Regions from separate parts of the Homo sapiens genome. Here region 1 is linked to region 2. The links are contacts of gene promoters, found by promoter capture Hi-C in blood cells and fetal thymus (Javierre and others, 2016). All regions are on one chromosome and are shown on one strand. Each heading gives the region's core, a stretch centred on a gene start or on the middle of the fragment in contact. The rest is flanking DNA. Distances are from core to core; before and after follow the strand shown.

Region 1 (6,789 bases), core at 85-2,584, 110 kb before region 2:
AGGACACGATGGCATTTTCTTAGGTATTATTAGTGGAAACAAAATGCTCCAGATCTTCATATAATACATACAACTTTAACCGTAAAATTCTAGGCATGATGCTTTCAAGTCCATTTGAAGGTGAGAAGTAAGACAGACATAAAAATTGTGATAGTTACATTGCATTATATTCGTAGGAGTTTAAAACTGATTGACAAGAACAGATGAGCAAAGTGAGTGGTGTGATGAAATTAGACACTTTCTCAAAGTATCTTAACATTTCTCATTTCCTCTCCCTGCTTTTATTGTGGCATATTGCATAATTATTGTCTGTCTCATCTATGGGACAGACAATGTAAGTTCCATGAGACATACATTTTTATCTTTCCAGTAGCTCACTGCTTGATCTCTACTAGCACTTAGTATAATACCTAGAACACAGTGGGCATTAAATAAATGTGTTGAATGAATGACCTACACTAGTAGCAGCAAAGTGTTTCATTGGTAAGACACTAATCAAAGCTTGAGAAGAGTTGGTGTTTTAACTCAGGTCTACTACTAAATCCCTGAAAGCTTCTGCTTTATTATTAATAAATAGGACTGTCTGCCTTATCTACCCATCAGGGTTGTTATAATTTGAAAAATTCTTTGAGAATTATAAAATTATATTATAAAAGTATAAAACATGTATATTATTTTCCCACATATCCTCTTGAGATCCTACTGTTGAAATGTACTTGATGCTTCCTTTAGAAGTATTCTAATATTTTCAGTTAAAATCCCATTAGAAGGACAAACAAGTAAGAAACATTTTTTTATAAGTTTCTATTTCAGGAAAATAAAAATATAAATTTCTCTTTGTTAAATTATGGTAGTAGAAAAAGCTTCAGTAAGAGGTTATTACAATTGGTCTCATATTAAAAATTTGAAGATGTGAGCAAACTACTATTAGTACATGCTATTAACTAGTTTTTGTTGTTCCAATTCAGCATATCCTTTTGGTATTTCTTCTATTAGCTCCATATTTTCAAAGAGTTCAGTTATCAATGTCAATTATATAGTAGTTCAATTTCCCTAAGTTTTGTTCCTCAGAGATAATACATATGTTCCCTCAGAAATTATGTGTAGCTTGGGACAGCAATTATTTCAACTGATGTAATTCTTTTTTTTTTTTTTTTTTTGACACCAAGTCTTGCTCTATTGCCCAGGCTGGAGTGCAGTGGCACGATCTCGGCTCACTCAACCTCTGCCTCCTGGGTTCAAGTGATTCTCCTGCCTCAGCCTCCTGAGTAGCTGGGATGACAGGCGCCCGCCACCACGTCTGACTAATTTTTGTATTTTTAGTAGATACGGGGTTTCATTATATTGGCCAGACTGGTCTCAAACTCCTGATCTCAAGTTATCTGCCTGCCTTGGCCTCCCAGTGTTGGGATTACAGGCGTGAGCCACCAGGCCCAGCCATAATTCTTATAAAAACGGAAATCTGATATTTCATTTAGCCTGTATAGCCTCAGTGCAGGTATATGTATCACTTTTGTTAGGCTTTTTGAAATGTTGAAACTAGTTTGACAACTCCTATTACTGGTTGCATGGAGCTCTGGGATTTTAAGGACTTTGGGTACTGTATGGTCTTTTTACATTTTAAATATATAATTTTCGAACGGCTTCCCCGGTTGCTCAGTTAATCCTTTCTTTTATTTTGCATAACTGCACTTCTCATATAGCACTTTTCACAATCTGCTCTGTATTCTCTCCAGCCTTGCATATACGGATGTCCTGACACAATCAGAAGATTTGAATTTGTATTGCTATGTGCTCTTGAGCAAGAAGCTTAACGTGTCTGAATAACGAGTCCTTTTTTGGTTGTTAATTTTCATCACATTTTGTCCTTTTAAAAATTCTTTTATTTGATTCAATATATTGTATTTTGTTTATTTTTTTAACTGCAGAAGTGAGTAGTTATATATATATATATATATAATTCCTTACCAATGAAAGCCCACAAGAGAGCTCAAAGCAATTAATTCCTAGATAAATATAATTTTAATTGATCTTATCCTACTTATCCAGTCATTTTTCCTTGCTCTGAGCCCCTGGCACGGCCCTTCTTGATTCCTGAGGCTGCCAGGAACTCACCGAGGACGCCGAGAGCTCAGCATCAGGCTTCATGAGCAGCACGCTTTGGTCCACAGCACGGAGGGCGCAGACGGACTGAGGAGCCGCTGTGACTCGCAGGTGGGCGTGTGAGGCTGGGAGACTTTGTGATGGGCTGAAGCTCAAATCCACCTGTGAAATTGGAACAAAAGGTCAGAAAAGCAAATTTCCAGGTTTACCCATGCATTCACTCGCATTTGCAGAGTGTTCCTCATGTACAATGTATAACCACTCTGCTTGACTTCGTGGAGGGTTGGCATTGTGTCAATCCTGAAGCTTTTTGTTCCCTACACTTCTCTTTCATTCTCAAGAATCACTTGAGCCAGTAGAATTATTTCTAATTATTCTTATAAATTACTAGTCATGAAATGCCATTTTTATCTTTGATACACGGCAAGGTGCTCATTAATTGTGGTGGGACATGCATGGGTCTAGGTGCTCTTGCATTTTTCTTTTGGCTCCTTAGTAGTCTTAAAAACTTGCTTACATATTTCCCAACGTTTCATCATAGAAGAAGGGAATAACATACTCTGAACTGTGTAATTGGTAAGAGGCACTGCTAGGAGAAGTTTGAGAGTTTTGTATAAGGAATCAAGTGATTCTGCTTCTTAGTGTGACTCTGCCACTACCTTGCTGAATGTCTCTGGGGAATTTGTTTAACCCTTTTGGCCCTAATGTTCACATGTGTAAAACAAATGATAACAATAGTAACTTCTAGTTTTACATGTTGAAGATTTTATGATCTAAAACACACACCTTGTTGGCCAGACAATTTTCAACATCATATTTTGCAGAATCCCCAATCACGTCCCCGGTAGGTAAAACAGCATAGATGAGCAACCGAGCGACAGGAGCAATGTCTGACTTCACAGGGATTGAGATGGAAAAATGGCCCTTCACTGGGGCACAAAGAGAATGAGAGGAAGCCATCATAGGTTAATGACTATTTCCATTAGTAGATGTAACAGACATAATAAACAGTAGATGTAACAAATGGATGATTACCTCTAAGGACTCTAGCTTTAGAAAAAAACCCTATCAAAGCCCTCTCTCCTCTCATAAATCATATACTCTGTTGATTTTTCACCAGCTTTAAGCTTCAGCTCACCCACCTAATGTTCTGATGCTAGTTAAGGGTATGAAGACATCCAATTCACTACCATTTGATCTAGGCCTCATACTAGAAGAGGGAAATAGAACCTGAAGTTATGAGATGTAAGAGTAAGAGTTCAACACATTGTATTCATGCTACATGCTCTTTAACCTTCTATGAGCCAATATTTGGTTCTTTCTCCATAAGAGGAACACCATGCTCCTTCAGAAGTTATTTTTTGATGCCTATGTAGATTCTTTAGAGGTTGCATTAAGTTTCCTTCAGTCTGCTATGGTGCTTCTGTGTTGCTACAAGAACTAATGAGAGAGTAGATTACTGATACTTTTCTAGCAAGTTATCTTTTAGAGTCTACTAGACTAGGAGCAACCTTCAAAGGTTTATATTATGACATATTTGCTCATGGCAAGAGTCCGCTTCAGTCGGTAGAAGTACCCAATTTAATGCTTCATAAATCATAACTATCTTGAAAGGGAAAAAAGATATTTATAATAATATAAATGACATAAATGACTCAGCACAAGACCTGGTATATACAACATACCTTGAAATCGTACATTTTCTCCACCCCATTCTCTAACACAATTCTCATTTTGAGAAGAGGTTCAAGAATATTTATGGTTTAAAAATCTGGAATAAGCATAGATTATACACAACAATATTTTATGTATTTTATTTTTCCCCCTTTGTTCTTATTTATTTATTTATTTATTTATTTACTTTTATAGAGATGGGGTCTCACTATGTTGACCAGGCTGGTCTCAAACTCCTGACCTCAAGAGATCCTCCCATCCCGTTCTCCCAAAGTACTGGGATTACAGGCGTAAGCCATCATAGCTGGCCCACACCAATATTTTAAATAACGCAAAGAAAATAGGCTGAAAAAAAAGACAACACATATTTGATAAAGGGTGAGAAAAAAACCATTATTGTTTTCCCTCCCTCAACTTTCTTTTAATTAATATTAGATGGAAATGGTCTCTCGTTACTTGAAAGTATTCCTGATATTCCCAGCTCAGGAATGGAAAACCAAACATCATATCTTCTCACTCAGAAGTAGGAGCTAAGCTATTAGGAAGTGGCAGCTAAGCTATTAGGAAGTGGGAGCTAAGTTATGAGGATGCAAAGGCATAAGAATGATACAATGGACTTTGTGGATTCAGGGGGAAGGGTGGAAGGGGGTGAGGGATAAAAGACTGCAAATTGGGTACAATGTATACTGCTCGGGTGATGGGTGCACCAAAATCTCGGAAATCACTACCAAAGAATTTATTCATTCATGTGACCAAACACCACCTGTTCCCCCAAAAACCTATGGAAAAAAAGGGAAAGTATTCTGATACTTCCGTGGTGTAAGGCTGAATGGGTCAGAATGGGGCAGCAATGCAGAGATGATGGAAATACTCACTGTCTTCCTGCTTCACAAGCAGTCCATGAGTCCCAGTTCGGACAATGCCTCCCTTTGCCATTATCTGCAAAAAAGGAAATAAAAAGAAATTAAATGTGCCAGAGAGAACACGCTTCAGTCTCACTTCAATATACTTGTTTTATTGAGTCCCTGCCGGCAATAATTCACCTCAAGAGAAATCAAACTTTCAAAAGGAACATGGATAAGAAGTTGAAGTAATGACATCTAAAGAGCTTCATGATTACTTGCTCCACAGAGAGCTTTTGTCTACAGTGAAGTCAACGCAGTAACCTCCCTTCTCACCAGATAATAGAAGGAGAGCTTCTTCAGCCCCAGCAGGGTGCCTCCATTCAGAATATAATGTGCCTGGACTGTCTGAGTATGGCCACAGGGTAGTTCATGAGACATGGGCTCAAGGTGGACAAAGCTCTTGCTTGGGGAGAACACAAGATAAGCAGTGTGATGTGCCTCTTCGTGTTCTTCTGACACCCACTGGTAGCCGTAACAGGGACTACGATCCTTGTAATTGACCTAATGAATTAGAAAAATTATATTATTTTTAGATTATACGTCATAAAGATTAATGTTCTCACAAAACTACGTAAGTTTACTGTCCTACCTTAACTAGTAGCTAGAAATCTTTTGTTCCACAATGAAAAGTGGGAGAAGGACCCCTGATTTTGTTTCTCTGCTTCAAATGTAGGCATGCTTTGTGACTTTACACTGCAGAGCCTCCTGGGATTGAGATTTATATTTCTTAAGAGCATAAAAGGAGGCATCCTTTGCTCTGATTAGCTTGCTTGAAATTTCTTTGACTGCTTTACCTGTGCAATTAGAGACACTGGAGCTATGAAACTTCATTGAGGAGAGTAAATAATCTCTAGAAATGGAAGAACTGTGCTTTCAGAAAGCAGCTGCCTCTTTTAGGGTGGATTTTGAATGGGTATTATGAATAAATAAAATATTGTAACCTTAGGGGTCTGAGAAGACATTGGTAGAAAGCATTGGTTTAAGAGCTGAGCTGATGAATTAGCTGAAGTCTACCTCTTCTGGGCTATCTTAGGCTGATTGCTATTATTATTATTTTTTTGAGACAGGGTTTTGCTCTGGCGCCCATGCTGGAGTACAGTGGCACAATCTTGGCTCAGTGCAATCTCTGCCTCTGGGGCTCAAGTGATCCTCCCAGTCAGCCTCCTGAGTTGCTAGGACTACAGGTGCATGCCACCCCACCCAGCTAATTTTTTGTATATTTTGTAGAGACAGGGTTTCACCACGTTGCCTAGGCTCGTCTCGATCTCCTGGCCTCACGCAATCCACCCACCTCAGCCTCCCAAAGTGCTGGGATTACAGGCGTGAGCTACCGTGCCTGGCCTAGGCTGACTATTTTTAATGCTCCCTGCAATCTGGATTCTAATACCTCAGAGGCCCTATTTGGGTTATATTTCCAACTTTTCTTCCTGTAGAAGTTATTCCTTAGCTCCTTTCAGGCTTCCTCTACCTTCATCCCCAGCTCCCAATAGCACTAGTGAATCCTTGAGCAAAACATTTTGTTCATATCTTAATGTATATTTTGGTGACAACACATATATGATCACCCCAAACAGGGAACAGGTAGAAATAATAATTTCATTGTCAAGACTAGCACAGTGCTGGCACGTGGAAAGCATTCAAGACACTTTTTGAAATGAGTAAACATTCAAATTAGAGGGAGGTGCTTTTATGCCATCTATTAAAGCTAAATAAATAAAATGTATTATTTATTTCTCTATAACAAGGTAAAACTCTAAAGAGGCAGGCGTTTTCCATTACCATGATTATGTAATATATATTAAATATGTATTGTATATCCATGTATCTATAGACATGTCTACATCTCTCTTGATGAATAGAGGACTGCATGCTATACCGAATAACTTATATTGGTATGAACAGGTCATCTGGAGAAAATTAGAATAGCAAGACAAAATAAAGTAAGGTAATAATTTTTGGAGTATATATATTTAAAACTAAATGCTAATTATGTTAGAATTGGCTTTTATAGTAAAAGTATCTAACAGTTAAAGGGGGCTTACTAAGTGATTCAACATGTATGATTTCACTTAATCTTCACAACCACCCCAAGAGTCAGGTGTTAGTA
Region 2 (7,881 bases), core at 947-3,446:
TCCCCATCAAAAAATTTTTCCTTTAGTTCTTTGATCTTAATAAGAAGGTATATATATATTTATAATTTATTTACTATTTTTATTCTTATAAATTATAAGCCTAAAAGATATCACGATTAAAAATTAATTCCACATATATTTGATATTCTAAAGAACTATTTTATATGAGTTCAGTTAATATTTTTTTAACAGATATTGAAATCAGAACAAATCCAGGTTGACAAACTTGCCCAAGATGTCATTGGTAGTGAGCTGCTAAAATGTTTTAATATATGTTTACTCAATCATGAATGTTTGCATTTTAAATATTTGCCTCTTTAGCAGGGACTAAATGTAGCAAATATTAAAGTGATAACTTTTAATTTTCTCTTTTTCATTTTATTCCCCTGAAACCTTCATCTTTCTGAAGCTTACTGCCCCAAGGCAGGGGAGAATGGCTATTGGTTCTCTTTTGTAGTCTCTCACATTTATCACATCAAGGGTTAATTCTGGAGGGATGAAGTTAAGTTTTCTCCTTATAAAGGGAGAAAACACCCCTTCTGCTTGTGACAACTAGGGCATGAGGCTTGTTGTTCTTTGTTCAGTGGCAGACACAACGTAAAAGGATGGTTTCAATGGCAGCATGGTCCAATGTAGTGTAGGAATGCATCCAGAACCACAAATTGCTTAATGTTTCTGACCCAATACACGCTACTCGCTTTATCCATTCAGTCTGCTCTCAGAAAGCAAAATAGCCTCCACATATTCCCATATGCTTTCTGGATGGAGAGCAGCTGGAAGTAGTAGAGCCCACTGCTGTAGATGAGGTAGAGGGATAGTGGGGGAGAAATGTACCCCTACCGGTTGCCAGGAAATTGTGCAAGGAAAAAGCCTGAGGAAAGCAGGAGACTTACTGGATTGAACTCCTTATTTCTGCTTTCTGCGCTTTGGCCTGAAGAAGGCTATTTGTGTTAGATGGATAAGGGTAACACACAGAGCAGAGGGACCCCTTATCCCTTTCCCGATTTGGGACTCTGAAGACTTCCCTGTATCAGTCTGGAATACAGGAGACACGATAGGCATCTAGAAGTGCAGTGTGGGTATGCAAGAGAGAGGTAGAAGTTTAACCTCTCCAGGACACCTCAGTGCCTATGTGCTATTATTGGACCCAAGAGTTCTCACCATTCTCTGGAAGAAATGTAAAGGCAGCTGGGTTAAGGCCAGGGACCTTAAATGGCCTGGACTGCAAAGGGGCAAGGTGACCCTGCATCACAGGCTGTGTTGAAACAATAGCCATAGTATTTGAGGCAGGATGCAAAGGTAGGAGTTCTATGGGATATGAAACAGCTGAAGTGAGACAGTCAGTTAGAGAGGACTGTTGGGTCCTGAACACACAAGAGAAACCAGATGGCTAAACTTCAACAGTGCATGCCAGCAAGTAAGGAGAAGTCAGACTGACAGTAGCCAAGAAGGACGGAGAACTTTGAGACCAAGGACTCTGACAGTTTTCTCTATTAGGAGTTAATGGAGACCACAGTTCTCTAGACACTATAGAGGAGAGGAACTGGGGAGAGGTGGAAAAGAAGTCTTACAATTATTGAGTTGTACCAACTTACAACTGGATAGGGTTAAAATTATTTTCCCTGCTTTGGTCCCCCACTGGGGGCTGTTGGTGAAGACTTGATACATGATTGAAAAATAAAGGAGCTATACTTTCTGTATATATATATATGGCCTACAATACATGTTAAGTTGCACTTCACTATATATTTCGAATATCTCTATATTCAGTGCCTTCCATCCAAAAGAACTGTTCTGTGAAGTTGGGATCTAGTGTTTTATTTAATCATGCTTCCTAGTGACTAATCGTATTTATGACTCTGATTGGCCCAGTGTAGAAAAAATGATTTCAAGAATAGAGGATAAATGAAAGACAAACAAGGGATTAACTGGAATAATTTCTTATATTTGGAAGGTATTGTAATGAGTGGAAAGGTGGCATTTACAAAGGAAGGCAAAGCGAAGACACAAGGGAGAGACTGAAACGCACTCTGGAGGAAGGGGTCTTGAGTGAGACTTACGGTTCTGTAGAGTTTGAGTCACTGGCAGAAAGCAGGATAAGAAGTAGCACAAGACATAAATGAAGAAGTCTGTCTTTCCGCATTGTGAGGGATAAATCTCAGGGTTGTGTCCAACTCTCTGCCCTCAGCCTCGCCCTGGAGACCAGCTGAGTTTACCAGGCTTTATGTGGCCACTATGTACAAACAAGCCCCACCCCAAGGCCTCTGAATAGAGTTCAGAATTGAGCACAGATTCCCTAAAAGGGTCATTACTCTCAGTGGTTGCCTCATTTTTCTCAAGGCTAAATTCTGATAGGTACTGAGGCATGTCTGGAAGATAAAATTTGTATTCCATTTAGAATGAGCTTTGACAGCAAACCTCCTGATAAGGAACCTTCAACCTACCTTTCTCCATCTCTTTCAAAATCCTTACAAGCAGGTGACAAAGGATGCTGACAAAGAATGTCAGGGACATGTTACCATGATAGTAGCTCATGCATTGCAGATTCATTTCTGGGACTGAGTGAGTTATAACTATAGACTTTAGGGTTTTTGGGTTTTCTTTTTTAGCAGTTGATTGAGTACATGGTCCTGGAAGAAAGTGATATAAAATAAGGATTTCAAGAGTAGAGGATCAATGAAAGATAAAAGAGATAAAAGATCAAAGAGATTTTAGAAAGGAGTTATCAAAGATCACACTTGTCTATTTCACAGCATTGACCTGATCAGATTCTTAGTTGATCCTATCTGTCCTTGTTACTGTCTGAGCACTCTAACGTTTGAGTCCCTTAAACCATGTCATTGACTTTATCTGAGATTTTTTTTTTGAGCCATACTGTGTGCTAAGTGCTATTCTGGTGATGAAAATACAATATTGAACAGGATATTCAGTATCCATGCTCTCATAGAACTTGTAGTACAATGATGATCACATATAAACCACCAGCAGATTTAATGCCATCCTTAGACTGCAGACATTGGTGTCTGTTTACATACTGTATTGCTTGAAACTTTTTAAATCAACTTTCTTTCTCTTTCTCCATATTTCAGCCTAATCATCCCTTCTTTGGAGAGCAAATTCCTGGCCACACTGCTGAAAGTGGATTCCTTCCTATTAGTTTTTATTTCACATCTTTGTTTCTTTTGTCACATTATCATAGAATGAAATAATTTCTTTTAAATTATGAAATGTTATATATATATATACTCACAAATATAGAGAGCAAGATAAAAGACACTCGTACCTTACATGCACCCAACTTTAATAAAATTAAACACTTGCCAAGTTTGTTTAAGGTCATTTCTTCTTAAGAAATGAAAGATGGCAATGGTAGTGCTCTTTTAAAATTTGTCTAGAAGCTTTTCCAGTTTTTACCAGATCCACCAACCCAAAAAAAGAAATAAATCAAGACAAATATGGTTGGAGTTTCCTTTGTAATTCTCTCCAATCTCATTTCCCTTCCAATGTTGTGGGATTAGGAAGTTGATATGTATTCTTCAAGATGTGTTTATGTTTTTAATCCATATTTATGTAAATAATATATAGCATAATTTTGTGTTTTGTATTTTATATGTATAAGTGGTATGCACATATTGTAAAATATGTCATCACTATTATGGTTTTAAGACTTATTAGCATTGATAATGAGGATAAAATTTATTAATTTTAATGACCATCTATACGACATTCTATTGTATGAATGTGGCCGAACCTGTTACTCTATTCCCCTAGTGCTGAATTTTGGATTCTTCATAGTTTTCAACATTACAAATAATACTGCTACAAATACGGTATGTCTACTTAAGCATATTTGCAAGACTTTCTCTAGGGTATATAGCAGAGATTGGGTTATAGGCTATATATGTATGTACATCTTGAAATCTATCAGATTGGTAAATTGCTCTTCAGAGTATTACATGGATTTGAATACCCATCTGCAACAGTGGATATTTTCAGTTTATTATATATTTACCATCGTTTTACTCTGCTAGGCATTTTACTTTTTATCAATCTGATGAGTGAAGCAGTATCTTGCCTTAATTTTCATTATTAATGACTTTACACATCTTTTCATATGTTTATGGACCATTTGAATTCTACCATCAGTTTGATATCTCAACACAATATGTAAAGGGTCTATCAGGAACATCTCCTTGCCCCAGTTTCATGAGCCTTGGACTCTAGACGCTGCAATTTTATTTACTAAAGGCTTTAAAATGTGCTTCTAAATCTCTCAGCCAAATATTCTGGAGCTGTTAAATACCCTAAGGGGAAAGTGCCCTTAAACACAGAATTGCCCCTTTGGGTTGCTATGTTGCTTCTGAACTTTGGATTCATAATTCTTCACAGTCTTTGCTTTTCAATACCTCCAGTGAATATATATATAACCAACCATTCCTAATTTAAGTGGGAAGTTTGGTCTCAATTACCTTGTATACCATTACTGGAAAGGAAAGTCTTAAGTGTGTATTTTTATTTTATATAAAGAGTATTGGAAAAAGACCTTGCCTGTTTCTTATTCTTTTTAGTTATTGCTAGTTTTAAAACATCCTCCCATGTTTATATGTTTATATGTATGTATTTTATTAATTGCATTTTATTACAGTATAGCCCTCTTTGGTGATCATCCAAGAGGTTTAATGTTTCCACTCTCCTAATGATAAAAACAGGATTGTCTCTATTGTCCTGCCATGAGGAAATAATGCTTTGATAAATATCTTTTTACATATACCCTTTGAGACAGGTAAATCCTCTTGCAAGACGCATACACAGGAGTGAGATTGTTGTATGAGAGGCATGTACTTAAGTGACTAAATAGTGACAAATAACTCTCCAGAATGGTTGCATCACACCACAATTCTACCAGTAGTGCATGAGGATTTTCGTATCCCCATATTGCCACCAATACTCTAGCTTTTACATTTTTCTTCCAGTATTCCTTTAAATAAGCTTTCTGCTCATTTCCCTCTTTTCTCCTTCTAGGACTCCCATAATATGTGTATTTGCATGCTTGATGGTATTCCATAGGTCCCTTATACTTTCTTCACTCTTCTTTAATTTTTTTTCTTTTTTCACCTTTAATTAACTATTTACATGACCTGTCTTCAAGTTACTAATTCTTTCTTTTGTGTGACTGTGTTTGCTGTTGAAGCTCTCCATTAAAATATTCAGTTCTGTTCTTATATAATTTTTGTGTGTTTTTTCTTAATGGTTTCTATTTCTTTATTAAACTTCTCATTTTGTTCATACATTGTTTTTCTAATTTTATTTAGTTGTCTATCTGTGTTTTCTTGCATCTTACTGAGCATCTTTAAGATGATTATTTTGAATTTTGGGGGGAAATTTGTAGATCTCCATTTGGGGTGGAGATTAGTTACTGGAACTTCATTGGTTTCCTTTGGTGGTATTATGTTTGCCTGGTTCATCATTATCTGTGTAACTTTGCATTGGTTTCTATGCATCTGAAGGAGCAAACACCTTTTCCCATCTTTATAGACTGGTTTTACAGGTAAAGATCCTCAGGATCCTCCTGTTGGGTTCCCAGGATTGACAAGATTGCTTCCAGAATTGTGGTCAACTGGAGGTAGAGCCAGGTCACATGGTTTTGCTGGGTCAACAGTGAGGTCTGTGGTTGGCAGGCCTGTTAACTGGGGCTCTAGTAGGCTTAGATTCTGTCTGTTCCCTGGGTAAATTGGACTGCCTCCTAGACCTTGGTCAGTAGGTCTGGCACTGGGATGAGGGTCTACTTTAGAGTCCACAGATTGTAGGCTAGTTACGAGATATGTGGATGAATGTGGCTTCCTCTGGGTCCTTAGGAGGGCTCCTACTGGGTCACTGGGTAGGTTCCTAGGCAGACAGTGCTGGTCCAGATTGCAGCTGAGAGAAAAGAGAACCAAGTAACAGGGCTGCCTCAGGGCCTACAGCTGAGACCCAGGTCTTCAGGCCTGCCTCTGGGTTCATGAATGGGCATGTGTCCCACTGGGTCCCTGAGTGGGCAGGCCTGCTCTCAAATCACAGATGAGAGGGCCTGGAGCCAGTATACAGTGCTGTTTTAAGATCCACAGTGGGACCAAGTTCAGCCTACCAGGGCACTTGTGAGCATTTCTCCCATTAGGTCCCTGTGAGGGCAAGACTGCTCTTAGACTGCATCATAGAGGAGCTGGTACCAGATTTCAAGGCCATTTTAGGATTCACTGTATAAGAAAGAAAGTAGCCAATCATCTTTTCTAGTTTTTTTATGTTAGTTATTTTCTTTCATTAAATGTTATAACTAATATGTATAGTTGAGGCCATGGTAGAAACAGTAGTGACAAAAAACATAACTGTCTATGCAAGATAATAGGACAAATGTTTTCCAAATGAGGAAAAGAGTAGTTTTGTCTTAAAATATCTGATTTTTCCAGAATGTGAAATGGGACAGTGAAAGAGAAAATCTGAATGAATGTGCAATAAAGTTTGCAGGAAAGGAAATTATTTCCTTCATTTATAACATTGAATCTGAAAAAAAAAACCAGTAAATTTTTTCCATAGTTGGCTATTTTTTACAATTTTTAAATGGACACAAATTCCCATTACATAACATTTATTACATTACAGTGTACAATTCAGTGGCTGTTAGTATGCTCATGGTGTTATGTAATTATTACCACTATGAAATTATGGAACATTTCCATCACCCCCAAAAGAAACTACATACATGTTAGTAGTCACTTCCTATTTTCAACAAGTAGAAATACTAATTCGTGCATTCTCTGCAAACACTAATCTACTTTATATTTTTATGAATTTACCTATTTGGACATTTCATATTAATAGAATCATAATATATGTGGCCTATGTTGTGTGGCTTCTTTCACATAGCGTGATGTTTTCAAAGTTCTTCCATGTTGTAGCATATATATAGTACTTCATTCCTTTACATGAGTGAACGATATTGAACAATATTCCAATGTATGGACATACCACATTTTGTTTATCCATTCCTCAGTTGATAGACATTTGAGTTATTCTCATTTATTAGCTATTGTGAATAATTCTGCTATAAATATTTGTATACAAGTGTTTGCATGAGCATATGATTTCATTTTTTGGGGGAATATATACAGGAGTGAATCTGTGGGTCATATGGTAGCTCAGTGTTTAACTTTTTGCAGAACTGCCAGACTATTTTTCACAGTGGCTGAAACATTTTAAATTCCCACCAGCAGTGTATGAACATCCCATTTTCTCCACATTTTTGGCAACATTTGTTATTCTGTCTATATTTAATTTTTAGAATGATAGCCATAGTGGATATAAAGAGGTATCTCTTTATGGTTTTAATTTGTATTTTCCTAGTGAATAATGATTTTGAGCATATTCTCATGTGCTTACTGACCATTTATGTATCATCTTTAGAGGAATGTCTGTTGAATTCCTTTGCCCATCTTTTAATTCAATTGTTTATCTTTTTATTGTTGAATTGTAAGAGTTCTTTACATATTTTGGATCTTTGATCTTTATCAGATATATAATTTGCAAATATTTACTCCTGTTCTGTGGGTTGTCTCTTCATGCATGATAGCGTCCTGAGACACATAGAAGTTTTTAGTTTTAATAAAATACAATTTAAAACATTTTTTGGTTCATTGTGCTTCTGATGTCATATTTAATAAATTATTGCCTAATCCAAGGTCCCAAGGATTTATACCTATGTCTCCTCCTAGGAGTTTTATTATTTTAGCTCTTACATTTGGGTTTGTAATCGATTTGAGTTAATTTTTTGTATATAATGTGTGTTAGGGGTCCAACTCCAATCTTTCTTTTGCATATGGGTATTTGTTTTTTTCATCATTTATGTTG

The links. The method cuts DNA at HindIII sites, captures the fragments that hold promoters and counts their contacts. A CHiCAGO score of 5 or more calls a contact.
Region 1: a contact is called between a fragment that was not itself captured here and the fragment with the promoter of PZP in region 2, in 1 of 17 cell types (endothelial precursors). The highest score is 7.4, in endothelial precursors.

The regions. Positions count from the first base shown.
Region 1 is chr12:9,096,492-9,103,280 of GRCh38, forward strand. It overlaps A2M (alpha-2-macroglobulin), which reads right to left. Exons shown (of 36, transcript NM_000014.6): 12 at 4,956-5,183; 13 at 4,653-4,716; 14 at 2,890-3,032; 15 at 2,116-2,265. It also overlaps a transcript of KLRG1 not described here. Among named protein-coding and RNA genes, the nearest start is that of A2M, 16 kb to the right of the region's middle. The HindIII fragment of the contact is 946 bases long and covers 862-1,807 here.
Region 2 is chr12:9,206,199-9,214,079 of GRCh38, forward strand. PZP (PZP alpha-2-macroglobulin like) reads right to left here and starts at 2,197. Exons shown (of 36, transcript NM_002864.3): 1 at 2,061-2,197. The coding sequence starts at 2,143. It also overlaps a transcript of KLRG1 not described here. The HindIII fragment of the contact is 2,989 bases long and covers 408-3,396 here.